Linked DNA regions of Homo sapiens: regions 2, 3 and 4 are each linked to region 1. The links are contacts of gene promoters, found by promoter capture Hi-C in blood cells and fetal thymus (Javierre and others, 2016). All regions are on one chromosome and are shown on one strand. Each heading gives the region's core, a stretch centred on a gene start or on the middle of the fragment in contact. The rest is flanking DNA. Distances are from core to core; before and after follow the strand shown. Region 1 holds the start of MEGF8 (multiple EGF like domains 8). Region 2 overlaps CXCL17 (C-X-C motif chemokine ligand 17). Region 3 overlaps GSK3A (glycogen synthase kinase 3 alpha). Region 4 holds the start of LIPE-AS1 (LIPE antisense RNA 1).

Evidence for each region. Contacts are between HindIII fragments. The CHiCAGO score rates a contact against its expected background, and 5 or more counts as called.
Region 2: a fragment that was not itself captured here is called in contact with the fragment with the promoter of MEGF8 in region 1 in 5 of 17 cell types (naive CD4 T cells, total B cells, fetal thymus and 2 more); the score reaches 6.5 in naive CD4 T cells.
Region 3: a fragment that was not itself captured here is called in contact with the fragment with the promoter of MEGF8 in region 1 in 1 of 17 cell types (endothelial precursors); the score reaches 5.1 in endothelial precursors.
Region 4: a fragment that was not itself captured here is called in contact with the fragment with the promoter of MEGF8 in region 1 in 3 of 17 cell types (total B cells, naive B cells and M1 macrophages); the score reaches 7.0 in total B cells.

The regions. Positions count from the first base shown.
Region 1 is chr19:42,322,843-42,328,876 of GRCh38, reverse strand. MEGF8 (multiple EGF like domains 8) reads right to left here and starts at 3,242. Exons shown (of 42, transcript NM_001271938.2): 1 at 2,447-3,242. The coding sequence starts at 2,633. It overlaps TMEM145 (transmembrane protein 145), which reads right to left. Exons shown (of 15, transcript NM_173633.3): 14 at 5,088-5,294; 15 at 3,813-4,140. The coding sequence ends at 4,060. RefSeq lists silencers at 2,577-2,646, 2,657-2,726, 2,947-3,086, 3,127-3,316. The HindIII fragment of the contact is 9,695 bases long and covers 1-6,034 here.
Region 2 is chr19:42,432,405-42,438,438 of GRCh38, reverse strand. CXCL17 (C-X-C motif chemokine ligand 17) reads left to right here. Exons shown (of 4, transcript NM_198477.3): 2 at 4,583-4,663; 3 at 5,362-5,463. The region is part of intron 1 of LIPE-AS1 (LIPE antisense RNA 1); the gene reads right to left. Among named protein-coding and RNA genes, the nearest start is that of CXCL17, 7.5 kb to the left of the region's middle. The HindIII fragment of the contact is 3,149 bases long and covers 1,058-4,206 here.
Region 3 is chr19:42,229,847-42,235,880 of GRCh38, reverse strand. GSK3A (glycogen synthase kinase 3 alpha) reads left to right here. Exons shown (of 11, transcript NM_019884.3): 5 at 1,203-1,333; 6 at 1,422-1,528; 7 at 2,498-2,595; 8 at 2,676-2,771; 9 at 3,199-3,385; 10 at 3,732-3,824; 11 at 5,014-5,691. The coding sequence ends at 5,087. Among named protein-coding and RNA genes, the nearest start is that of GSK3A, 9.7 kb to the left of the region's middle. The HindIII fragment of the contact is 1,969 bases long and covers 1,621-3,589 here.
Region 4 is chr19:42,395,498-42,401,531 of GRCh38, reverse strand. It overlaps LIPE-AS1 (LIPE antisense RNA 1), which reads right to left and starts at 4,384. Exons shown (of 3, transcript NR_073180.1): 1 at 4,308-4,384. It overlaps LOC101930071 (a long non-coding RNA gene), which reads right to left and starts at 4,404. Exons shown (of 2, transcript NR_126041.1): 1 at 4,308-4,404. LIPE (lipase E, hormone sensitive type) reads left to right here. Exons shown (of 10, transcript NM_005357.4): 10 at 1-18. RefSeq lists enhancers at 3,316-3,999, 4,000-4,683, 4,538-4,697, 4,718-4,857. The HindIII fragment of the contact is 4,570 bases long and covers 1,043-5,612 here.

The DNA of each region.
Region 1 (6,034 bases), core at 1,993-4,492:
GTCTGAGACGTTTTTTCTTTTTTTTTGAGGTAGAGTCTCGCTCTGTCACCCAGGCTGGAACCACAGATGTGCGCCACCACGCAGGGCTAATTTTTGTAGTTTTAGTAGAGAGGGGGTTTCTTCATGTCGGCCAGGCTGGTCTCTAAAGCCTGACGTCAGGTGATCCGCCCCACTTGGTCTCCCAAAGTGCTGGGATTACAGGCGTGAGCCACCGCACCTGGCCTAACCAGTCTGGGACTCTTTAAGGCCAGAGAGTGATTTATATCCAGCACACAGACCCCTTCGCCACACACACACACACACACACACTTCCTATTCTGTTCTCATCCCACTAGCTTGACAGGAATGGCCCCCAAGCTGGGAACAGGTAGACATGCTATCACTGAGAAACAGGCCTTCATCCATACCCCACACAGCAGCCAGAGAGATCTTCTAAAACATAAATCAGATCATGTCCTCTCCCTGCTCAAAACCCTTCCATAGCTCCCCAGAGCCCCCAGACAAAGACAAAGCTCCACAGCCTCCCAAGGGAGGCCCTGCATGATCCAGGCTCTGTCACACCTCTGGCCTTTGCCCAGGACCTCCCCTGTCTGGAGGCCAGCTTTTACATCCACTACTCTGTGAGGCCTTCCTGGGCTTCTGCAGGTACTGCCTTTCAACTTCTCTTTCACCCCTGTATTGCCCTCAGGATACAGCTCAAAATCACAGAGCCCTACACCTGCTGGCTCCTCCCACCCTGCAGCCTCTGGCTCATTCGTTGTCTTGTATTCTATGTTTTTGTTTTTGTTTCAGATGGAGTCTCGCTCTGCCGCCCAGACTGGAGCGTAGTGGCACAATATTGGCTCACTGCAACCTCCAGGTTCAAGTGATTCTTGTGCCTCAGCCTCCTGAGAAGCTGGGACTACAGGCGCGCGCCATCACACCCAGCTAATTTTTGTATTTTTAGTAGAGATGGGGTTTCACCATACTGCCCAGGCTGGTCTCAAACTCCTGACTTCAGGCGATCTGCCGGCCTCGGCCTCCCAAAGTGCTGGGATTACAGGCATGAGCCACCATACCCTGCCAGTATTCTATGTTTTAACACACTGGATTTCTAGTTCTTCAAAAGCATCACTCTCCCGCTTCCCCGCCTTTGCACAGCTATTCTTGCCTGGAATGCCCTTCTGCTCCCTCGTACAGATGCCTCTGATCTCAGCTATACCCCAGGTTAAGCCACATGTCTTCACAGAGAAAGAGCCACTGGGGCAGGGTTCTGAGGCATGCATAGGAGTTTATTGGGTGGAAAAGGAAAACAAACAGCCTCGGAGTGGGTTTGTCTCTCCCACTGACTGGGAGCCCAGAAGGGTAGGGCTGGGGCCTTTCCTCCCACTCCTGACAGATTCCTATTGGTCCTTTAAGTCTCAGCTTAGACATTTCCTCCTCCAGGAAGCCTCTCTGTTCTCCCCGGCCCCAGATCAGGCACTTTCTCTGGGCTCTCCCAGGCCTCTGGGGTTCCTCCATCAAAGACCACTCTTGTCTCTCACTATTAATGTGTTTGTCTCCCCAACTAGACTCCAAGACCTAAGTCACCAGGGATTGCTGGAGCTGTCTCAGTCTGGGCTATGTCCAATGGGAAACATAATGTCTGGCACATGAATGACTGAAGAAAAATGCTTTTATTGAAGTACTTCACAAATAACAACAACAATAATCCTAATGCCATTTATTGAACAGTTACTATATGCCACACATCAGGCATGTTAAATACCTGTTTTCATTTCATTCCAACAACTCTATGAGGTGAGTACTGTTGTTATCCCATTTGTGGGGGAAGGAAACAGAACCTCAGAGAAAGAAAACCACCTGCTCAAAGTCACAAAGCTAATAATAAGAAGCCAGGCACAGTGGCTCACACCTACAATCCCAACACTTTGGGAGGCTGAGGTGCGAGGATCGTTTGAGCCCAAGAGTTCAGGACTAGCCTGGGCGACATGGTGAGACTCTGTCTCTACACACTCAGTTACTTGGGAGGCTGAGGTGGGAGGATCACTTGAGCCCAGGAGGTCGAGGCTGCAGTAAGTAAATTGTGTTGGTACCATTGCACTCCAGCCTGGGTGACAGAGTGAGGCCCCCATCTCAAAAAAAAAAAAAAAAAAAAGTAGTAGTAGTAGAACCAAATTCAAAGCCAAATGATTGGACCCAGACCCTGAGTTCTTAACAGTTACTCAGAAGGCCCGGCACTGATGCTCCTGTCTTGTAATTGTAAATCTGGGTGTAGGTGCATCTCCCCCACCAGACTTGGAGGCCTTCCAGGGCAGGGCCCAGGTTGGCTGCAACCCTGGGTGTCAGGCATTTTAGAGCAAAAGGCCTGGACCAGAACCGAGCTCTGGGAATGTGGTGAGTGGATGAATGCACACATGAATGAACTACCAGCGAATTAGTGAGTGACCCACGCGGCCCCACTCACCCTCGATGAGCCACTCGCAGTTGCCATTGACGCTGTAGTTGCCCGCACCATCCGTCACGAAGCCTGGCGCCTCCCGCAGCACCTGCCGCTGCCCCTTGCAGTCCCCCGCCCGGGCCCCAGGGGACAGCGACCCCAGCACGGCCAAGGCCAAAACCAGTGCCATGGCCAGAACCTTGCCCAGGGCCATCGCCGCCTCCTGCACTGACCCTTAGAGCGGGGACAGGCCGTAAAAACCTGGAGAGGACCCTCTACCCGGGGTGAGGCCCTGCAAATGCGACCTCTATAGGCATAACATGACCTTGTAGATCGAAGAGGTCCCGGAGACCCGGCAGTCCCGGCGAAGGGTACGGCCACTGCTGACAGGCTCTGGAAGCCGAGGGCTGAGCCCTATAGAGCGATGGAAGGCCCTGTATATGGAGTCATTATGGACGGGGCCGAACCCTAGGGACCGTAGGAGTCCCCTATAGACACAGGGCTCCATAGGGGGCCGATCCCATGAACAGTGCCCAGCATTACGGACTCAGGCTGCTGCAGGCCAAACGGACCTTATAGACGGGTGGGTCCCCAGGGGGCGAAGGGCTCTACGGCCCGGCAGGAGCCTCCATAGAGGCTGCGGGCCGGGACAGGCTAGGTTCGGATGGTCCAGGAGAGACTCCTCCAGCCGGGGGCGGGGCGCGAGCGGGTGCCGGGGGCGGAGCCCGTCTTCAGGGGTTCGGGCCTGGACCCCACAGACCCAATCCCTTTGCTCACCCACCCTCGCCTCCCTCCGAAGCCGGATGGGCCAGATCAGAGAGACGAGGGGACGCTTGGGCCAGAGCGGCCGCGGGAAGACCCGCTGTGGGAGGGCGAGGGGGCGGGAGCCGAGCAGCCGCTGTGGGAGGGACGGCGAAGAGGAGGCGAGAAGTTACAGAGCGGCCGGTCAGAGCGGCCCTGGGAGGACTGCGGAGCGCCCAACCCCAACCCTCCATAAAGGGAGACTTCCGGGGAAATCCCCGCCCATTTGTTCCCAACCGCATGCGCAGCAGCGTCCTCCTGGAGGGAGAGAAATACACATATGCGCAGTGCTAAGATCGTAACCCAAACTCTGGGTGCCTGTGGTTCAGCAAAGCATGGGCCACTGGAGGGCGCCTCTACCTCTGAGTGAGGAAAGGAAGGCAAAAATAAAGGAGCGGTGCAAGACCCTGCTAGATGTTTGATCATCTTCAATGTTCCCACATTCTGGGGCAACATAAAGATCAGGTTATACAGGCCCCTGCCTCCGGTTCCAAATTCCCATTTCACAGATGGACACACTGAGGTCCCGAGCCTGACATAGTTCTGGCTCAGCCCCGCCGCTGAACACCATCAAGATGCAAAAGAAGCCATGTTATAGATAAAAACGAATCCTTTTTTATTTTGGCAAGAAGGGGTAAAATGTCTTTCTGCCAGGGACCCGAGGGAAGGCCCCCGGAATGGAGATGCGGCAGATGGAGTACGGGTCCGAGGTCACAGATCCGAGGGAGGGTTTCAGGGTCGAGACCAGCATCGCAATATCCATCCCGGGGTCGCAGAGTCCTGGAGAGTCACAGGCAGGGTCCCGGCGGTCACCACGGGTGTTCCGGAGTCCAGCGGGGTCAGAGGTCTCGAAGGGGGCCAGGGGGCCGGAGGTCACGGAACAGCGGGAGCCCAGAATCCGGCGCCGCTCGGGGCAGGGGCTGAGGGAGGGGACGGGGAGAGCGGCTCCCGCGGGACCGTTTGGCACAGAGGGGAGGGGGGCGGGACGCAGCGTACCCAACCTGGGCGCGCGGGGTGGGAAGGGTCGGGAAGGCCGGGGATGGGCGAGCTCTCGGGCCGGGATAAAGCAGGGGTCCGGAGCCCGGCCGGGGCCCGGTCATGGCCCATGGGGCAGGGGCGGGCAGGGGTGCTCAGACCGGGGGTGCAGTGCCCCCGGCCGTGTGCATGCTGAAGTATTCGGTGAAGCCGGTGTGCGGCGCTGCCGTCTGGGGCACGAGCGGCTGGTAGGGCGGCGTCGGGCCGTCCCAGCCCGAGTCGGCCGCCTTGGGGAACCGAGCGGGAAGTGGGGGGGAGGCTGCGCCCGGCTCGGCCATGGTCACCACGCGGCCCCTCGGGGCCACCGCCGCCGCCACCGCTGTCTCCTCCACCTGCTTCCCGGCCTGGGAGGGGGGTCAGGGTCAGAGGCCGTCCGGGACCCTCGGGGGGCAGATGCGGCCCCGAAGGCCCGTCCCCCTCCCCCGGAGAACCCTTCCACCCCAGGTGTGGACGCACGTTGTCAGTCAGGGAAGGACTGGGTGGCGGGGCGCCTGGGCAGCGGGGCCAGGTACTCAAAGGGCGGCGTCGGGGCGCGCGGGGCGAACTCCGGCGGCGGCCGGGGAGCTGGGGGAGAGCCGCGGAAGGCGGGCGGTGGGGGCACGGCGCAGGGAGTCTGCGGGGGTGTGCGCAACAGCGCCAGAACCCAGTCAGGCAGGGTGGGCGCGGGCGCCAGGGGACGGTCGCGGCGCGGTGTTGGGGCGCGGGGAGTGCGAAAGGCAGGAGGAGGGCTCAGGGGTCCGGGCGCTGGGGGCGGCGGCGGGGCCGGGAGCGGGGTCAGGTACTCCAGGGGCGGCGCCAGCAGCTCCTCGGGCGCTGGGGCCGCGGGGCTTACGGAGGTGGCGGGCGGGGGGATGGAGAAGAGCTCCGTGAAGTTGGGCACCGAGTCGCTGATAAACGTCACGTTCCCATAGACGTGCTGCGGGAAGGCCTTGTCAGCGGATTGGCTCCCTCCGGGTCCAGGGACTCCGGCTGAAGCGATCTGCGACGTGCGCACGTGGTACGGGAAGTTCTTGTTGGCCGCTGATGGGCGGGTCATGATCTGAGGCCAGGGCCAGGAGCAGGTGTGAGAGGCACTGTCAGGCCGGAGGCTGTCCCCATAAACTTGGGGTCCGAAGGATTCCCTTTCAGTTGACATCCACCACACTTCCCTGAAGCCATTCACACTGGATTAGGCGTCCCCTCTGGGCTCTCCAAATGCCCTGGACCCTCACCTTTTCCCTTCAACAAAACTCGGCCTGTGCTTCCTCCATCAGAGGCCTGATCACTGAGCTGTCACTGATTGCTTAGGGTCAGCGTCCTGCACTGTATGATAGCCACTGGCTGCATGTAGCTTAAATTTAATCAAAATAAAATTTAAATTTTGGTCACACTCCTCACTACACACTCACTATGCACTACCCACATTCAAGTGCTCAACAGCCACATGTGGTTAGTAGCTCCCATATTGGAAAGTGCAGGTAATAGGATATTTTCATAAATACAGAAAGTTCAATTGGACAGCAACTAATAGACTCTAAAATGTCTCGATGAGGCAGGAACCAGACTCTTCTGTTCCCTACTGAGTCCCTAGTACCTTCTAGAACCATGCCTGGCGCATATAAGCCTTCAGTAAATATTGGTGGGCAAGGCGCCATGGCTCACGCCTGTAATCCCAGCACTTGGGGAGGCCGAGGCGGGCGGATCACCTGAGGTCAGGAGTTTGAGACCAGCATGGCCAACATGGTGAAACTCCATCTCTACTAAAAATACAAAAATTAGCCAGGTGTGGTGGTGCGCCTG
Region 2 (6,034 bases), core at 1,383-3,882, 110 kb before region 1:
ATGTGTGTGTGTGTGTGTGTGTGTGTGTATTTTATATATATATATATATATATATATTTTTTTTTTTTTTTTTTTTTTTTTTTTGAGACAGAGTCTCTTGTCGCCCAGGCTGGAGTGCAGTGGTGCAATCTCGGCTCACTGCAAGCTCTGCCTCCTGGGTTCACACCATTCTCCTGCCTCAGCCTCCCGAGTAGCTGGGACTAAAGGCGTGCGCCACCACACCTGGCTAATTTTTTGTATTTTTAGTAGAGATGGGGTTTCACCGTGTTAGCCAGGATGGTCTCAATCTCCTGACCTCGTGATCCGCCTGCCTCGGCCTCCCAAAGTGCTGGGATTACAGGTGTGAGCCCCCACCTGGCCTATTACAGTATATTTTTAAAATTGTTCTATCTTATTGTTAATCTCTTACTGTGCCTAATTCATAAATTAGACTTTATCGTAAGTGTATATGTGTAGAAAAAATATATATATAGGGTTTGGTACTATCTGAGACTTGAAGTATCTTGGGGGTCTTGGAATGCATCCCCTGTGGATAAGGGAGGAATATTATTAACCACATCTTACAAATTAGGAAAATGAGGCACAGAAAAGTTACACAACTTTGTCCAAAATCACAAAGCAAATATGTAGTGGATCTGGGAAGTGAAAATAATGACAGATGCACCACAAATCCTAACAAGTGGAAGTAACTTCTTTACACATCCACATCAGCAGAAAGCCACAAGCCCAATATTCCAGCATAGACACTCACTTTGGAAAATAACCAGAATTCCACAGCAATAAACACAATGATAACCATCATGTACTCAACACCCGCCTGGACACTGGGCTCCCACAGCAGCTCACTTATTCCCAACAACTCTGCAAGGAGGATTTTACCACCCTCCTTTCACAAATCAGGGAATCAAGGATCATAGAAGCCAAGTGACTTGTCCAAGTCGACAGTTAAGTGACAGAGCCAGTAGCTGACCCCAGGCCTATGTGGATATAAAGTGCATGCTTATGCCACTGTATCAGTGGTTCCCAAAACTGATTTTAGGTGGAAAGTAAATAAGCTTCTTTTTACTTTAATATTTATGTGTTTATTCCAATGCATGTTAGGAAAAAACTAAGCATACATCAAACCTGTAATTTCACAGATAATATTGCATAGGATGAGGATGTTTTGCAAAATAAATTTGTTTAGAGAAAAAGTATAAAGTGGCCAGGCATAGCATCTCATGCCTATAATCCCAACGCTTTGGGAGGCCGAGGGGAGCGGATCACTTGAGGTTAAGAGTTCAAGACCAGCCTGACCAACATGGTAAAACCTGCCTCTACTAAAAATACAAAAATTAGCCAGGCATGGTGGTGGGTGCCTGTAATCCCAGCTACTTGGGAGGCTGAGGAAGGAGAATTGCTTGAACCCGAGAGGCAGAGGTTGCAGTGAGCCGAGATCACAACACTGCACTCCAGCCTGGGCGACAGAGTGAGACTCCGTCTCAAAAAAAATAAATAAATAATTAAATGAAAAAAAATTTAAACATTAGTATAGCTCTTCTGAAAGCAATTCTTAACTTTTGACCCAGTAATTCCACTTTGGGAACTCTCTCTCAAGAAAATAATCTAAAATTTGGAAAACAGTTACAAGAACAAAGAAATTTACCAACATCTAAAAAATAAAACTTTCTAAATATTCAGCAATGGGAAAGCAGTTAAATAATTTGGAACACATAATTATTGAGAGTATTATGCATTCATTAAAAATGTGTTATGAAGATGACACAGCAACATGCCTATGAATGGAAAAAGAGAATGTGTTTACATGCTATGGTTATCACTATATTAATAAAAAGCATATGTAGGTAACAAATATGCCAAAATACCAACAGTTGGTAAGAATAATAATTTCTCTGTTTGTACTTTCAAAATTTTCTCCAACAGTTAAATTACATTTAGACTGAAAAAAAAAAAAACTTCAGAATTAAGGAATTCAATTAAATAATCTCTGGGATTTCCTTCAAGGTCTAATATTCTGTGGTTTTTCTCTGGAACTAGGAGTAGAGGTCAGGCAAGAGTAAAAATGTTAGAAAAGTTTAAATGGCAGGACCTATGCCTGCTTAAATTACTTTGATAACACTCAAAACAGCACATGAGAACATTGGAAAAGCAGCCCTTGGGGAAATGACGCAACCCCCTCCATCTGTGTGGCAGAAGTCTGGGAAGTAGGAGGCCTGAATTGAACCATATGATCTCTAAGGGTCCTCTCCAAACAACTTATCCATCCACGTGTTGAACAAACATTTGCCAAATGCCTACCATGTGTTAGGAACCACGTACCTGAATGACTACTGAACCAATGGTTCAGAGTCTAGTGAAGGAGAAATATTTTATTTTAGTTTGCTAGGAATGCCATAACACAATACCACAGACTGGGTGGCATAAACAAGAGAAATTTATTCCTCACAGTTCTGCAGGCTGGATATATGAAATCAGGGTGCCAGCACAGCTGGGTTCTGGCAAGGGTCCTCTTCCAGGTTGCAGACAGTGGACTTCTCCTCTTATCTTCAAGAGGTGGAAAGAGAATGAAAGAGCTCTCTAGGATCCCCCCTACTTTTTTTTTTTTTTTTTAGACAAAGTCTTGCTTTGTTGCCCATGCTGGAGTGCAATGGTATGATCTCAGCTCACTGCAACCTTTGCCTCCCGGGTTCAAGCAATTCTCCTGCCTCAGCCTTCCAAGTAGCTGGGACTACAGGCACGCGCCACCATGCCCTGCTCATTTTTGTATTTTTAGTAAAGACAGGGTTTCACTATGTTGGCCAGGCTGGTCTCAAACTCCTGACCTGTGATTCACCCACCTCGGCCTCCCAAATTGCTGAGATTATAGGCATGAGCCACCGCGCCCAGCCCAAATCTCCTTTTCTTATAAGGACACCAGGCAGACTGGTGTAGGGCCCACCATAACAGCCTGATTTTAATCACCTCTTTAAAGGTCCTATCTCCATATACAGTCATTCTGAGGTACTGGGGGTTATGGATTCAACATGTGAATTTCGGGAGACACAATTCAGTCCATAAAAGATTTCAAACAACAACATTACAGTGCAATAACAGAACTGCATTCAACAACAATGGGAACCATATGAAGGTATAATTCATGTTGACAGGAAATATCAGAAACTACCATAAAGGAAGTGTCATCTGAGCCAAGCTCTTACTTGAGAATCTCAAGTCTATAAACCATCATTCTTGATTGTCTTAGGAATTTTTTTTTTTTTTTTGAGACCGTGTCTCGCTCTGTCGCCCAGGATGGAGTACAATGGTACGATCTCAGCTCACTGCAACTTCCGCCTCCTGGGGTCAAGAGATTCTCCTGCCTCAGCCTCCCGAGTAGCTGGGACTACAGGCGCCCGCCACCACGCCCGCCTAATTTTTTGTATTTTTAGTAGAGACGGGGTTTCACCATGTTAGCCAGGATGGTCTTGACCTCCTGACCTCATGATCCGCCTGCCTCAGCCTCCCAAAGTGCTGGGATTCCAGGCATGAGCCACCGTGCCCAGCCTGTCATAGGAATATTTTAAGTATCAAAAAATGGAGATAAGATAGAATCGGAAAATAAAACAGGCTCGGATAAAGGCCAAAAGAAGAATGTATTTGTTCCAGAGGAACAAAGGTAAATACCATCGTTTAATAGTTGAACTGGGACTCTGGATTCAAATACAGCTACTTGGGGTGGGTGTGGTGGCTCATGCCTATAATCACAGCACTTTGGGAGGCCAAGACAGGCGGATCGCTTACGCCCATGAGCTCCAGACCAACCTGGGCAACTTGGCAAAACCCTATCTTTACAAAAAATACAAAAAACTAGCCAGGAGTGGTGGTGCATGCCTGAAGCCTCAGCTACCCAGGAGGCTGAGATGGGAGGACCAACCAAACCCAGGAGGTCAAGGCTGCAGTGAGCCGTGATTGCACCACTACACTCCAGCCTGGATGACAGAGTGAGACTCTGTCTCAAAAAACAAACAAACAAACAAAAAACCCAGCAACTTGGAGGTCAAGGGAAAATCTTGATTTAAGGAATAATCTCCTCCTCGCTCTCACTCTTTTAAGTCATGAGGATTTTAATGTGAGGTATGAGGAGAGGGCAGGAGGTTTCGACAAACCCCTGCCTTTTATCATCTCTTCCATCTAGAAGCCATTCTTTCTCCACCTACCTTCAGCTAAGCTTTTCTCTAGGCCAGATTTTTTTAATCATTAAATTTTTGAATATGCTTATGTATAGGCCAGATTTTAAACCTCAATCCCTTATCGATTAAAATACCCCTCAGCTGGGCACAGTGGCTCACGCCTATAATCCTAGCACTTTGGGAGGCCAAGGCAGGAGGACCACTGGAGCCCAAGAGTTCAAGACCAGCCTAGGCAACACAGCAAGACCCCATCTCAAAAATATAAATAAAAATAAAATATTCATCTCTTGAAGTAACCTAGATTCTTGAAGTAAAAATGGAAAAATGGAACTGTGCTGACCTAGGTAGAACAATGCTGGGAGGATCATTTCTGTGCCCTTTCCAGTGTCTGGATGTGACCTGTTTCCTTCCGACAGGGGTCGCCAGAGGCCACAGGGACCGAGGCCAGGCTTCTAGGAGATGGCTCCAGGAAGGCGGCCAAGAATGTGAGTGCAAAGGTCAGTAATTCAGCAACAACAACAGCGATGGCATCACCATGACCCCAGCTCTCTCCCTTGGGCCCCTCTGAGACCAATGCAGATGTTATCTCAGCTGACCTCACCCATTCCCCTCTCCACAGCCTGCCACATGCAGCACCTGTGCCCACTTTCTTCCTGACTCTCAGGCAAGAACTGGACTTCTCCAAGGTCTAGGGGAAAGCCAGCCAAATGTCAGGCTGCGCCCTGCCCCTTATCCTTTTCCTGAAGAACCCAGAGCTACCGTCCAAAAGCCTTTTTATTTTTTCCTGGCCTTCCAAAAGCTTCCTGAATCCTATTCTCAGCCTTATTTTACTCACAGGCAAGACTGAAAGCAGAGAGGCAAAATGGCTTCCCCAAGGGAAAGTAGCCACTGAAAAGCAGACACCCAAGCCTTACTCCTCATTCTTTGGAGTAATGATATTCTGATGCACCCTCCAAACCTGCCACCAAACCCTTGCCCAAACCCTTGCCCAAACCTTGCCCAAAGTTGTCAGGAAAAACAACTCAGAAATACTGGCATTCAAATAGCTGGATGGACACTGTTCTCTGTTGACCCCTTTTCCCACCCCATTGCAGTGGAAATGCAAGGCACAGAAGATGGCGATTAAAGCTCTGTCCTACTCCCTCCTATCAAATGTATTAACTCTCCCATCTAAGCAGCAATGCTGTTGTTCCAGATTGGTTCCTGAGAGCCCCGAGAAGAAAATTCATGACAGTGTCTGGGCTGCCAAAGAAGCAGTGCCCCTGTGATCATTTCAAGGGCAATGTGAAGAAAACAAGTAAGTTTCCAAAGGATGATTTTCCTTATACCAGAGTCACTCCGTGAAATCACTAGGGAAGAAGCACGTTGAGAATAGAAAAAAGAGGTGAAATTAAGACCAGGATAAGCACACAACTCAGCCCTTTCTACTCAATGTCACCTTGTCGGGAAATAGGAAGAGAGGAAAAGCAGGATACAATTTTCCTGATACTGGAAAGGTTTAACCAAATTCTTAGATTTTAAAACCTCACTGTTTACCAAAGTGGGGGTAGATGGGGCTGTTGGAGATCTGGTCATTAATCTCTGAAGATTACACCAGTGTCAGCATCAAACAGAATTTGACTCCTCCCTAGTCTAGCAGTTTTGTGTTTGTTATTTTGTTCTGTTTTTTGAGTAGGGGGTCTTGCCATGTTGCCCAGGTTGGTCTCAAACTCCTGGGCTCAAGTGATCCTTCCACCACAGCCTCCCAAGGATCTGGGGTTAGAGGTACACACCACCACACCCAGTTTAGTCTACCAGTTTTTAAGTGTCATATAAAAAGTAAATTGGCAGCCGGGCACAGTGGCTCATGCCTGTAATCCCAGTACTTT
Region 3 (6,034 bases), core at 1,356-3,855, 92 kb after region 1:
AGGAGGGGAGCTCTCTGGTTTGGCGAATCTGTCCTGTGGCTGCCTGCATACGGGTCCCAGGGCTGAGGAATTCCAGAGGCACCACTGACTGCGACCCAGGCCTTGGCCTTGAAGAGCTCTCAGTTTGGTAGGGTAGAAAGGCGTCATCACAGAAAACTATTAAATGAACTAGCTGCTGCCATACCAGAAGGAGCACAGGGAATTCTGGAAATGGAGGAAGCACCCAGCCTGGTTTGTGGGTGAGAAGGATCAAGGAAGGCTTCCTGGAGGAGACCAAGCACAGGGCAAGGAAGTGGCATCTTTGGCCGAGGGGAACTGGAATAAAAGGAAGGGGGCCTAGGAAGCAGCCATGTCAGGACCTGGTCTGTCTAGGCCCTGGGGGATGCAGCAGTAACTGAAACTCAAAATCCTGCTCTCACGGTACTTCTGTTCTAGTCAGTGGGAGGGAGAGTGGCAGGAAAATGGAGCTGGAGAGGGGGCAGGCTCAGGGGTGGTTTTGATTGTCGGATTAAGGAGCCAGTGGTTTTGGTGAGGGGGAAGCTGAGTGCCTGGCTCCCTAGCCTGTTTTATGACAACCTCCCGATGTACCTTACTCATCAGGCTTCTGCCAAGGGTTGTGATTAAAGCAGTGGTTCTCAGAGTGTGGTCCGGGGACCAGCATCAGTGCTGGAGAGCTTGTTGCAAATGCCTCATTCAGAACTCACTGATCAGAAACTCTAAGAGTGGGGCCCAGCAGTCCCTTTTTTTTTGTTTTTTTTGAGACAGGGTCTCTGTCACCCACGCTGGAGTGCAGTGGTGCGATCTCGGCTCACTGCAACCTCCGCCTCCTGAGTTCAAGTGATTCTTCTGCCTCAGCCTCCCGAGTAGCTGGGATTACAGGTGTGCACCACCACGCCCGGCTAATTTTTGTATTTTTAGTAGAGACGGGATCTCAACATGTTGGCGAGGCTGGTCTTGGCCTCCCAAAATACCGGGATTACAGGCGTGACCCGCCACGCCCAGCCAGTAGTCCCTGTTTTAACAAGTCCTTCAAGTGATTGTGGTGCACATTAAGAGAACCAAGGTTTCAAATGGGTTTCCCCAAAGCTGTGGGGGCAGCAGGGAGAGTGGGCCTGGAAGGGCTCTTCAGGCCAAGCTGGTGGGGTAGTGGTGCTGTATGGGGAAAGCTGGGCTAAAGTTCTGCTATCCTGTGCCCGCCGCAGGTGTACATGTACCAGCTCTTCCGCAGCTTGGCCTACATCCACTCCCAGGGCGTGTGTCACCGCGACATCAAGCCCCAGAACCTGCTGGTGGACCCTGACACTGCTGTCCTCAAGCTCTGCGATTTTGGCAGGTGGGCCTGGGGCATGTTGGGTGGCTGAAGAGGCAGGGGGGACCCCAACCCTTGCCTCACGTGTACCCCTGCCCATCTCTTCCCACAGTGCAAAGCAGTTGGTCCGAGGGGAGCCCAATGTCTCCTACATCTGTTCTCGCTACTACCGGGCCCCAGAGCTCATCTTTGGAGCCACTGATTACACCTCATCCATCGGTCAGAGTTATGGGAGGGTGGCGGGGGGAGTGGCAATCTGGGAAGTTTTGGAGTTTTCTGTGTGCTGTATGCCAAGCTTGGTGATGAAAGCTTAACTTCTGTTCTTGTATCCAGTCCTCACAAACTTAGGAGGCTGATGCTGTTGAATGCTAATTTTACAGATGAGCTTAGAGCTGTGAGGCCGCCTGCCCGCACTGGCACCACTAGGACTGGGCAGGACTGGGATTTGAAAGCTGACCTGACTCCAGAGTCCATACCAGCTCTGGAACCTCCCTGTCAGCCCTCTGTTCTCAGCTAGGGGGAAGGGCTGCTGGAGACCTTGGGGGAACCGGGAAGCAAGGCTTTGCCACCATGAAGGTGCAACTTGCTCCCAGGGCCTCTGTGTCCTTCCCTGTTTGTGGGGACAACTGCCATTTTCCAGGCATGAGGGGAAGTCTGAATTGAGGGAATGGGCATGAGAGTTTGAAAGGGCACCTTCCACAGCAGCATGACGAACTGTGGAGTCCTTAGGTATGAACTCGTGCTGTGGGGGTCAAGGTACAAAGCAGGGAGGGGTGAGACTGCCACGCTGCAGCTCTTCTCATGGGCAGGAGAGAGGCTGGAACAAGAGGAAGGCAGTCCAGGATTTAAGGCTGTACCTTCCTGTGGCCCAAAGAACATGGGTGCCTGTTGGCAGGTTTGGGCCTAATTTGGTCTGTCGTCCAAGGCTAGCGGGAGAGAAGGAGCTCATTGGGGTCCTTAGCAGAGAGAGGAACTGAGGGCTGGAAACACACCTAGACTAGAGAGTACAGCAAAGGCAGGGTCAAGGTCGGGCCCATGTTTCTAAGCTGCATGTGACCTTGGGCCAGGTGCTTTGTCTTTGAGAAAACGGGGCTCCTGACACTCTTAGGATGGCCATGAGGAATAAAAGCATTGGGAGGTTGGTGGCCCTACTCGCCTAGCCCTGACGCTCCCTCCATTTCCCCTCAGATGTTTGGTCAGCTGGCTGTGTACTGGCAGAGCTCCTCTTGGGCCAGCCCATCTTCCCTGGGGACAGTGGGGTGGACCAGCTGGTGGAGATCATCAAGGTGAGGGGCGGGGCTGGGCTGGGCAGGGGGTGGGGCTGAGGGATGGGGCCCTTGTCTCAGACCCCTCCCTCTCTTTACAGGTGCTGGGAACACCAACCCGGGAACAAATCCGAGAGATGAACCCCAACTACACGGAGTTCAAGTTCCCTCAGATTAAAGCTCACCCCTGGACAAAGGTGGGGCAGGGCTAGGGGCTCAGGGCAGTATGGCTGAGAGCTGGTCCCCCTTGGAGGTCAACTGTTCTGTGGACCTAGCCTCAGAATCACGGCTTGGGAGGATTTGAAGAGTTATCCAGGGATCAATAACATCCATCCGCTTTCAAAGTTTATGGCATTTTAAAAGTTGAGAACCCACAAGTAAATTCAAGATTCCAATTTTTATGGAGGGTCAGCAGGGCTCATATAGTCCCAGACCTGGGCTGCCTGCTTACCCGATACAAACTGACCTCTCCTTAGTGGTTGGGCCTTAGTTTCTTCATTTGGAAGGTGGGGGTGTGGGAAGCAACCAGTCATAACTTGCCGCAGGCACTGTGGCAGTGAGATAACAGGAGTATGCCAGTGTCCAGGGCATCTCACCCTCATGAGCCCTGCACCCATCCCTCAGGTGTTCAAATCTCGAACGCCGCCAGAGGCCATCGCGCTCTGCTCTAGCCTGCTGGAGTACACCCCATCCTCAAGGCTCTCCCCACTAGAGGCCTGTGCGCACAGCTTCTTTGATGAACTGCGATGTCTGGGAACCCAGCTGCCTAACAACCGCCCACTTCCCCCTCTCTTCAACTTCAGTGCTGGTGGTGAGGGCATAGCCTGGGATCTGGGGAGTGGGGCGGGGTAGGGGGGCAGCCAAAGATTGTGAGGAGCTTGGTGTTGAAGCAGGAGTGGGGAGCTAAGGGCAGGGTACAAGGCAGGCCTGGGGCTCAGGAAAGATGACTCCCAGATTCAGGGGGAATCGAACCTGCTTCAGTTGTGCTTTACTGTGATCTGCCTTGTGCTAAGCTTTTTCTGGTTTTTCATTGAGAGAGGTCTGTGGCTGAAGGTGTCCACAAACAACTGGCCTTCCCAATAGCTGGGTTCCCATTTGGTGCCCATCATAACCCTGCTGTAGTCTACCCTGACTAGCATGTCAATTCCTGTTTCTAGAACTCTCCATCCAACCGTCTCTCAACGCCATTCTCATCCCTCCTCACTTGAGGTCCCCAGCGGGCACTACCACCCTCACCCCGTCCTCACAAGGTAAGTGGGGACCATCTGCTGGGGGTTAAAGTATCTCTCAGCCTGGAGAGGGTGGGGCTGTTCGCTCAGTGACTGGGTTTCCTGAATGTATTTTTAAATCATCGACATTTTGATGGCATAGGAAACACATCTTACAACATGTGAATGACCACCTTTAGAGGGTATTCTTGCGTACAAATGTTTAAATGTGTTTAATGCCAATGGGAAAGCCAGAGAAATAACGTCTGGCCTGAACACAAACAAAAAGTTGAATTCGTTGCCCAAGTTTGTTTTTTTTTTTTTTGTGCAATAGAGTTTCACTCGCCACCCAGGCTGCAGTGCAGTGGCTCGATCTCGGCTCACTGCAATCTCCGCCTCCTGGGCTCAGGCAATTCTCCTGCCTCAGCCTCCGAGTAGCTGGGATTACAGACACACACCACTACGCCTGGCTAATTTTTGTATTTTTACTAGAGATGAGGTTTCACCATGTTGGCCAGACTGGTCTTGAACTTCAGGTGATTTTCCCGCTTGGCCTCCTAAAGTGTTGGGATTACAGGCGTGAACCGCTGTGCCTGGCCATGGTGTCCACGTTTAAAAATGGGGCTATTTTATGTAAAAATTCAGATTTCCTGTTTCTCTTGGGGAAGAAAATCAGATTGGGCAGCAATGGGCCCGCCCATCCTACTGACAGTAGACAGTGGGCGCCCTTTATATTTTTTAGACGGAGTCTTTTTCTGTCACCCAGGCTGGAGTGCAGTGGCACAATCCCGGCTCACTCCAACTTCTGCCTCCTGGGTTCAAGTGATTCTCCTGCCTCAGCCTCCTAAGTACCTGGGATTACACGCTCATACCACCATGCCTGGCTTATTTTTGTATTTTGAGTAGACATGGAGTTTCACCATGTTGGCCAGGCTGGTCTCGAACTGCTGACCTTGTGATCTGCCCACCTCAGCCTCCCAAAGTGCTGGGATTACAGGCGTGAGCCACTGTGCCCAGCCCAGCCACCGCCTTATATGGAGCCTGGCACTCTGGTGTGTCACTCAGTTACTATCGTGGCCCTTTAGCACTTGAGTTTGCAACCCTTCACCTAAAGTAACAGCTTGTAACTTTTAATGTAGCATCTATGACAAGAGAATTCCTACTTTTGGGTTGGGCGAAGGGGTGTCTGAAAGGCAAAGGCTAACTCTGCTCCTTCCCTGCCTCCCTCCAGCTTTAACTGAGACTCCGACCAGCTCAGACTGGCAGTCGACCGATGCCACACCTACCCTCACTAACTCCTCCTGAGGGCCCCACCAAGCACCCTTCCACTTCCATCTGGGAGCCCCAAGAGGGGCTGGGAAGGGGGGCCATAGCCCATCAAGCTCCTGCCCTGGCTGGGCCCCTAGACTAGAGGGCAGAGGTAAATGAGTCCCTGTCCCCACCTCCAGTCCCTCCCTCACCAGCCTCACCCCTGTGGTGGGCTTTTTAAGAGGATTTTAACTGGTTGTGGGGAGGGAAGAGAAGGACAGGGTGTTGGGGGGATGAGGACCTCCTACCCCCTTGGCCCCCTCCCCTCCCCCAGACCTCCACCTCCTCCAGACCCCCTCCCCTCCTGTGTCCCTTGTAAATAGAACCAGCCCAGCCCGTCTCCTCTTCCCTTCCCTGGCCCCCGGGTGTAAATAGATTGTTATAATTTTTTTCTTAAAGAAAACGTCGATTCGCACCGTCCAACCTGGCCCCGCCCCTCCTACAGCTGTAACTCCCCTCCTGTCCTCTGCCCCCAAGGTCTACTCCCTCCTCACCCCACCCTGGAGGGCCAGGGGAGTGGAGAGAGCTCCTGATGTCTTAGTTTCCACAGTAAGGTTTGCCTGTGTACAGACCTCCGTTCAATAAATTATTGGCATGAAAACCTGCTTTCTGTCCGGCTGCCTGTTTCCGCTGAGGTGGTGGGGGCTTCCGGTGGGGGGACTGTTCTGGGACGGGAGTGAGCTGCATCTCAGGCAGAGGGCTGTCCGAAGGCCCTGGCTCAGGTGCCCAACCTTCTCACACCGTGGCTTTCTCTGCACGTGTGGTGATGAGCTCCATCTGGGTTATCTGCTGTAGAGGCCTAGGAGGAGCCTGCTCCATGACCCAGCATAAATCATCTGCTTCTGCTTAGGGAGGGAGGGATTAACCTCCCAGTAACTGGTGAGCCAACTGGGGATCAGAGAGGGGAAGGCCATGGAGCTTAAGTGACAGAAGAGTCAGGACTT
Region 4 (6,034 bases), core at 2,078-4,577, 73 kb before region 1:
AATAAAAGTATTTAATTAGTTTGGCCTCTCTCAAATACGGTGGGGTGTTTGCCCACCAGGGGGCAGCATCGGACTCAAGCGGCTGGGAACCAAGAAACCTGGAATGAGGGGTATGGGGGACTGGATTTTTGGGACCAGAAGGGAGTGGACTCCTTGGTAACCCGGACCCACCTCCCCTCGGACTTCATCCAGGTACACTGCCAGGAGATGCTGGGTCCTCAGCTCCTCCCCTTGAAGACCTTCGGTTAGCTGGACTCACCCTGGTCCCAGGGAGACCAGGCTCAGCATCCATCAGGGGGATATAAAAGTTAAAAATAATCTCTCGGGTCTCAAAGGCTCCAGTGACCCAAACACCCTACAGAACTGGAGCAAAGTTAGCAGGAAATCAGAAACAAACTGGCGCTCAAAATACTGTAAATGCAGCCGGGCACGGAGGTTCACGCCTGTAATCCCAGCACTTTGGGAGGCAAGACAGGAGGATAGCTTGAGTCCAGGGGTTTGAGACCAGCCTGGGCAACATAGACCAGTCTCTACAAAAACATTTAAAAATTAGCCGGGCGTGGTGGCACACTCCTGCAGTCCTACCTACTCAGGAGGGTGAGGCAGGAGGATCACTTAAGCCCAGGAGTTCGAGGTTGCAGTGAGCTATGATCGCACCACTGCACTCCAACTTGGGCAAGAGTGGGACCCTGTTTCCAAAAAAACAAAAACTGGAAATGCAAGCTCTGTCCAGCTGTGACAATCAACTCTTGGACCAACTCTCTGGCCCCTTGTAAGCCCTGAGTTTGGAGTTGAGATGATTTATACCCAAGACATGCCTTCAAAGGGCTTCTGATCCTGGATTCAGAGAGGGTGGAAGAACAGACACAGGCTGTCACAGTCCCCAGGGGTTCCACCTGTGGTAGTCAGGGAGGGCTTCACAGAGGTGGTGATCTGAGCTTGACACTACAGGATGAACAAAAGTCTGCTAGGAAGAAAAAACATGCCAGGTTGTGAGAGCCAGCTGGCAGTGATCAAAGCTGCCACCTGGCTAGAAAAAGCTTCCACCTGACCAGAAGGTCAGGTGCAAAGTGGGGAGGGGCGTGAGGGGCCTGGAGTGGTCAGCAGGAGCAGGGCCTGAAGAGCCTGGAGTACGATTTGGACTAAACTGGAGGGCAGTGGGGAGCCACAGGAGCACTTTGAGCAGGAAAGGGCCAGGGTCAGCTCAGGGCACTGAAAGATCCTGCTGGGACACTGGGGGATGGACAGAAAAGGGCAAAACTGGAGTCCTACAGGCCAAGGAGGATGCCTGAGCTGGGGCAGGAGCCGTAAGGGTAGGGAGTGTAGGTGTAGCATCCCAGAGCCATAAAAGGTGGGAAGGACAGCACCTACTGATGAGGTTACAGGACAGCAAGGGGACAGAGATGACACCCAGGTCTGGCCATGGAAGCAGGTGGACAGTGAAGCTGTCTCTTCAATGGGAGGAGGCTCAGGTGTGTGTGTGACAGGTGGGACCTGTGGAGGGCCATTCTGGACATGGTGAGCTGGAAGGTCTCAGGAAGACAATCCAGGAGACAACAAGGGTCAGAAGTGCAGTCTGGGGCTGGGTGTGGTGGCTCACACCTGTAATCCCAGCACTTTGGGAGGCTGAGGCGGGTGGATCACCTGAGGTCAGGAGTTCAAGACTAGCCCAGCCAACATGGTGAAACACTGTCTCTACTAAAAATACAAAAATTAGCCAGGTGTGGTGGTGCACGCCTGTAATCCCAACTAACTGAGAGGCTGAGGCAAGAGAATCGCTTGAACCTGGAAGGCAGAAGTTGCAGTCGGCCGAGACTGCACCACTGCACTCCAGTCTGGGCAATAGAATGAGACTCTGCCTCAAAAAAAAAAAAAAATGCAGTCTAGGTGGAACCAAGGGACTAGAACCTTTCCAGGAAGCCTGGGCAGGTGGGACAAGCAACAAGAGGGCCAGGACAGAGACAGCCCTGAGGATCACACCCCTAGTAAAGGGGTGGGCGGGGGTGGGCAGTGGAAGGCAAGGCTGGCGGGTTCTAAGGAGCAGCCAGAGAGGGAGGAAGCTGCCCAGGAAGGAGGATGTAGGGTGAAGGGAGTTTCAGGGAGTGGACCAGGTCAGATGAGGATTGAAATGTTACCCTCAGGTGTCAGCAATGAGCAGGTGACCTCAGTGACCTTGTCCAGAGCCACTGCAGGGTCATGGCCGTTAGGCAGCCAGACATAGTGGGTTGAAGAGGGAGTGGAAGGTAAGGGATTGAGCCAGTGGGCGCCACAAGAGAGCCTGATACAGGGCACATGTGTTTAGAGATGATGGACATGTTTGAATGCTGGAGGAGTGGGAGAGACTGAAGATGCAGAAACAAGAAAGCCGTTTCCTCACGGGGTGCGAAGCAAGGGATCCTCAGCTCAGAGGTCCTCGTTCACCCAGCAAGTGACTTCTGAGTCAGGGCCTGTGCTGGGGCAGGGAGCTGTAGCCCAGAACTCTTCCTGAAGGTCCAGATCCACTGGCCTGAGTCACCACTCTCCTTGTCCAACTCATAGAACCCCTTGGTCACCTCTGTCAAAACAGTCACTACCCATCAACCTGCTCCTCTTTTCCTGTCCCCACCTCAGAGATGGCTCCACTGTCCTCCAGACTAGAGCTCTGGGTCTCATGCTGGACAACCCCTTGTCCCATAGCCCATCAATCCCCACTTTCTGTTCTCTCTGCCTCCTGAATCTCCTTATTTATTTTTCTTTCTTTCTTTTTTTTTTTTTTTTTTTTTGAGATAAGGTCTCACTCTTGTGCAGGTTGGAGTGCAGTGGCACCATCTTGGCTCACTGCAGCCTCGACTTCCCGGGCTCAAGTGATCCTCCTGCTTCAGCCTCCTCAGTAGCTTGGACCATAGGCATGCACCACCACACCTGGCTAATTTTTCTTTTTTTTTTTTTTATTTTGAGTCTCACTCTGTGGCCCAGGCTGGGGTGCAGTGGCGCGATCTCAGCTCACTGCAACCTCCCCGTCCTGGGTTCAAGCAATTTTCTGCCTTAGCCTCCCGAGTAGCTGGGATTACAGGTGCCCACCACCAAGCCTGTCTAATTTTTTGCATTTTTAGTAAAGACAGGGTTTCACCATCTTGGCCAGGCTGGTCTTGAACTCCTGACCTCGTGATCCACCCGCCTCGGCCTCCCAAAGTGCTGGGACTACAGGAGTGAGTCACCGCGCCTGGCCACACCTGGCTAATTTTTTGTAGAGATGAGGCTGTCACTATGTTGCCCAGGCTGGTCTTGAACTCCTTGGCTCAAGTGATCTTCCCGCCTCAACTTTCCAAAGTGCTGGGATTACAGACACGAGCCACAGCACCAAGCCTTGCCTCCTGAATCTCTATCTTATCCCCTCGGCCTCTTCCCTGATCCAGGCTCCACTCTCTCCTACCTGAATCCCTGCCAGAGCCACCTCCTGGGCTACTGGCTTCCAGTCTCATTCCTCCAGTTCTGGACCAACTATGACCTTGTCCTCCACTACTCTCAACCCTTCCATGGCTCTCCACTACCCCCTCACCCTCAGGACAAAGTCCAAGCTCCTCAGCCTGGCCTCTGCTCATCTCTTCGGCCTCCTCCAGCCTTACAGTTCCCCTGCTGGCCATACAGACTTGACTGGCCTTCCGCTTAGGCACCTGCACGCAGTACTGCTCCTGCATGCCTCCCTGTCTTTGGTCACGCTGAAACACCCTCCCCACACCCATTTTGCCTGGCATCTCCACTTTGCCTGGCACCTTCTGCTCCTCCAAGATCCAGCTCCAATGGCCCCTCCCCTGGAAACCCTTTCCCGACCACGCCAAACTCAAAAAAGTCTCTCCTGGGCTCCCACCGTCTCCGCACACCCATGCCCATCAACGTCCATCCTCCCATCTGACCCGGGCTCCTTGAGGGCACGGCCCAGGCCTGACTCATCTTGGTCACCAGCATCGCCCAGCACGAGGCTTGGCACACCAGAAGCCTCAGGAAATGTTTGTCTAACTAATAGGTGGGAGAGTGTGTGAGTGAGTGGCTAGACGAGGGAATCCGTGAGTGAGAGAATTGAGGGCAGGAAGGGCAGAACGGATGAAGGAACAGGAAGGCAGGAGCAGACGAGAATCAGGCTTAGGGTGGGAGGAACGGATGGATGAATAACAGATCCAGTATCCCGGTCTCAGTTTCTCCAAGAAAGCAAGATGGGTTCGCCGGGACTGAGCTCCTCCCCCCTCCGCCTCAAGCCTCACTAAGCCTCACGGTTTTCCACCCGAGCTATGTGCAGAATCCTAATACTAGGCGTGCTGGAAAGGGCTTACCCGGCCAGACTCGGAGAACCCGTTCCCTCGCGAGCCCGCTCGGGCCTCTGCGGAGTGGACCAGGATTCCGATCCCTCAGGTTCCGGGTCTATTGGCCGACTGACTGGGCCTGGCAGAGACTGGCGTCTCCGAAAGCCTATCGCTGCCCGAGTTGGGCTGTGGGCCCCGCCTACCAGGCAAAGGGTCCTGAGTGGCCCAGGGAGGTAGAAGGCCGAGTGTCCATTGGCTGGAAGATAGTGACTGACGTCATGGATAGCTTTCGCCGCCAGACTCCAAAGAAGCGCCTCGCGTGTCGGACCCGCCTCCGGAGGGACTGAGTCGGGGTGGGAGCCCTGGGCGTAGACGGTCGCAGAATGGTCGTGAATGGAGTTTCTGGCCCCACATACCTAGGCTGTTTGCTGACCCGATCCTTGGGTCTTGAGGAAGGTTGGGGATTTGAGAGTTCAGACTCCTTGGTTCTGAAGGAGGAGAAGTCTGGGACCCGAGGAAGGAGGGACTAGGGGCCCGGACTCCTGGGTCAGAGGGAGGAGGGGGCTGGAAACCTGAAGGTTTGGTGTCTAGGAGCGGGAACTCCGGGATCTTGAGTCACTCGCCCGCCCAGGGATGACAGGTTTGGGGTTCAGGATTTTATGAGGCTATTTATGGGAAGGGAGCCAGGCCTTACCCCCAGGCAAGTGTTCTGGGTAATGAGGCGGAGCTTGTAATGGAGAGGGAGAAGGAAGAGGCTCAGGGGAAGCTCTGGCCTGGATATGCCCTTTCCTCATCCCGAAAAGGGAAGTCAGAGGCAGGTGCTGTCTGCAAAAGGAACCCAGAGCTAGAGGAGACTGGAGACTCACGTGAGACTAAGAGAAAAATAGAGATACCAAAGGGGAGATGGCAAAAATAAAACAGTAATAATAACAGAGCTCTCTTGTACTGAGTTTACTGTGGCCTGGTTCTGTGCTGAGCATTTTACATAATTATCTCATGTCTTCCTCGCCACAGCTCTGAGAGATTGGATTATTATTAGTAGTATTATCCCCAGTTTACAAGTGAGAAAATTGAGGCCTAGTGAGGGAGAATCCAGATACAGATGTAAAGATACAAGAGAGACACAAAACATAGATGGAGATAAACAAAGAGTTACAGGCCCAGAGAGAAAAAAGAAAACGCAGGCAACAAACAAAAGGAGAGGGGCTGAGAGCTGGGACTCCTGGGGCTGGGGAACTGGAGAGCTGGGGACCCGGACTCCTGGGTCCTGGGGAAAGCAGGTCCAAGGATGGGGTCTCCCAGATATTTTCTCCCGTGAATCCACGATACTAAGCTTGTCCAACCCTTCTGACTGTGGGCGTGAGCCTGGTTGGGGTCGAAAATAGTGATTAGGAGGTGCACTTGCATCATGAGCCTATTAGGAGGTGATAAGAACATGATTCATGGCGGTCTCCTTCGCCTGGAAGGGACCTTTCCCCCATGGCCTCTGTTCTTTGATCTGGACAGATCTGGCCTTCTCTGTCCCTCCCCATCACTGCATCTCGGTCACTCAGAACTGTCACTGAGGCCCATTGTGGAGGCAGTGGGCCACCTTGGGGCAGCAACAGCTTTCCTGGTGGGGGTCATCTCTCTGGGTCTCTCTGCTTTCCCCCAGACCCTGAACCGACCAGAGGTCCTGGCACATTGCAGGGGCTCAGGAAATGCTCATGGAATGAATGGACAGAGATCCCCGTCTCTGGGCAGCTCTTCCTCTGTCC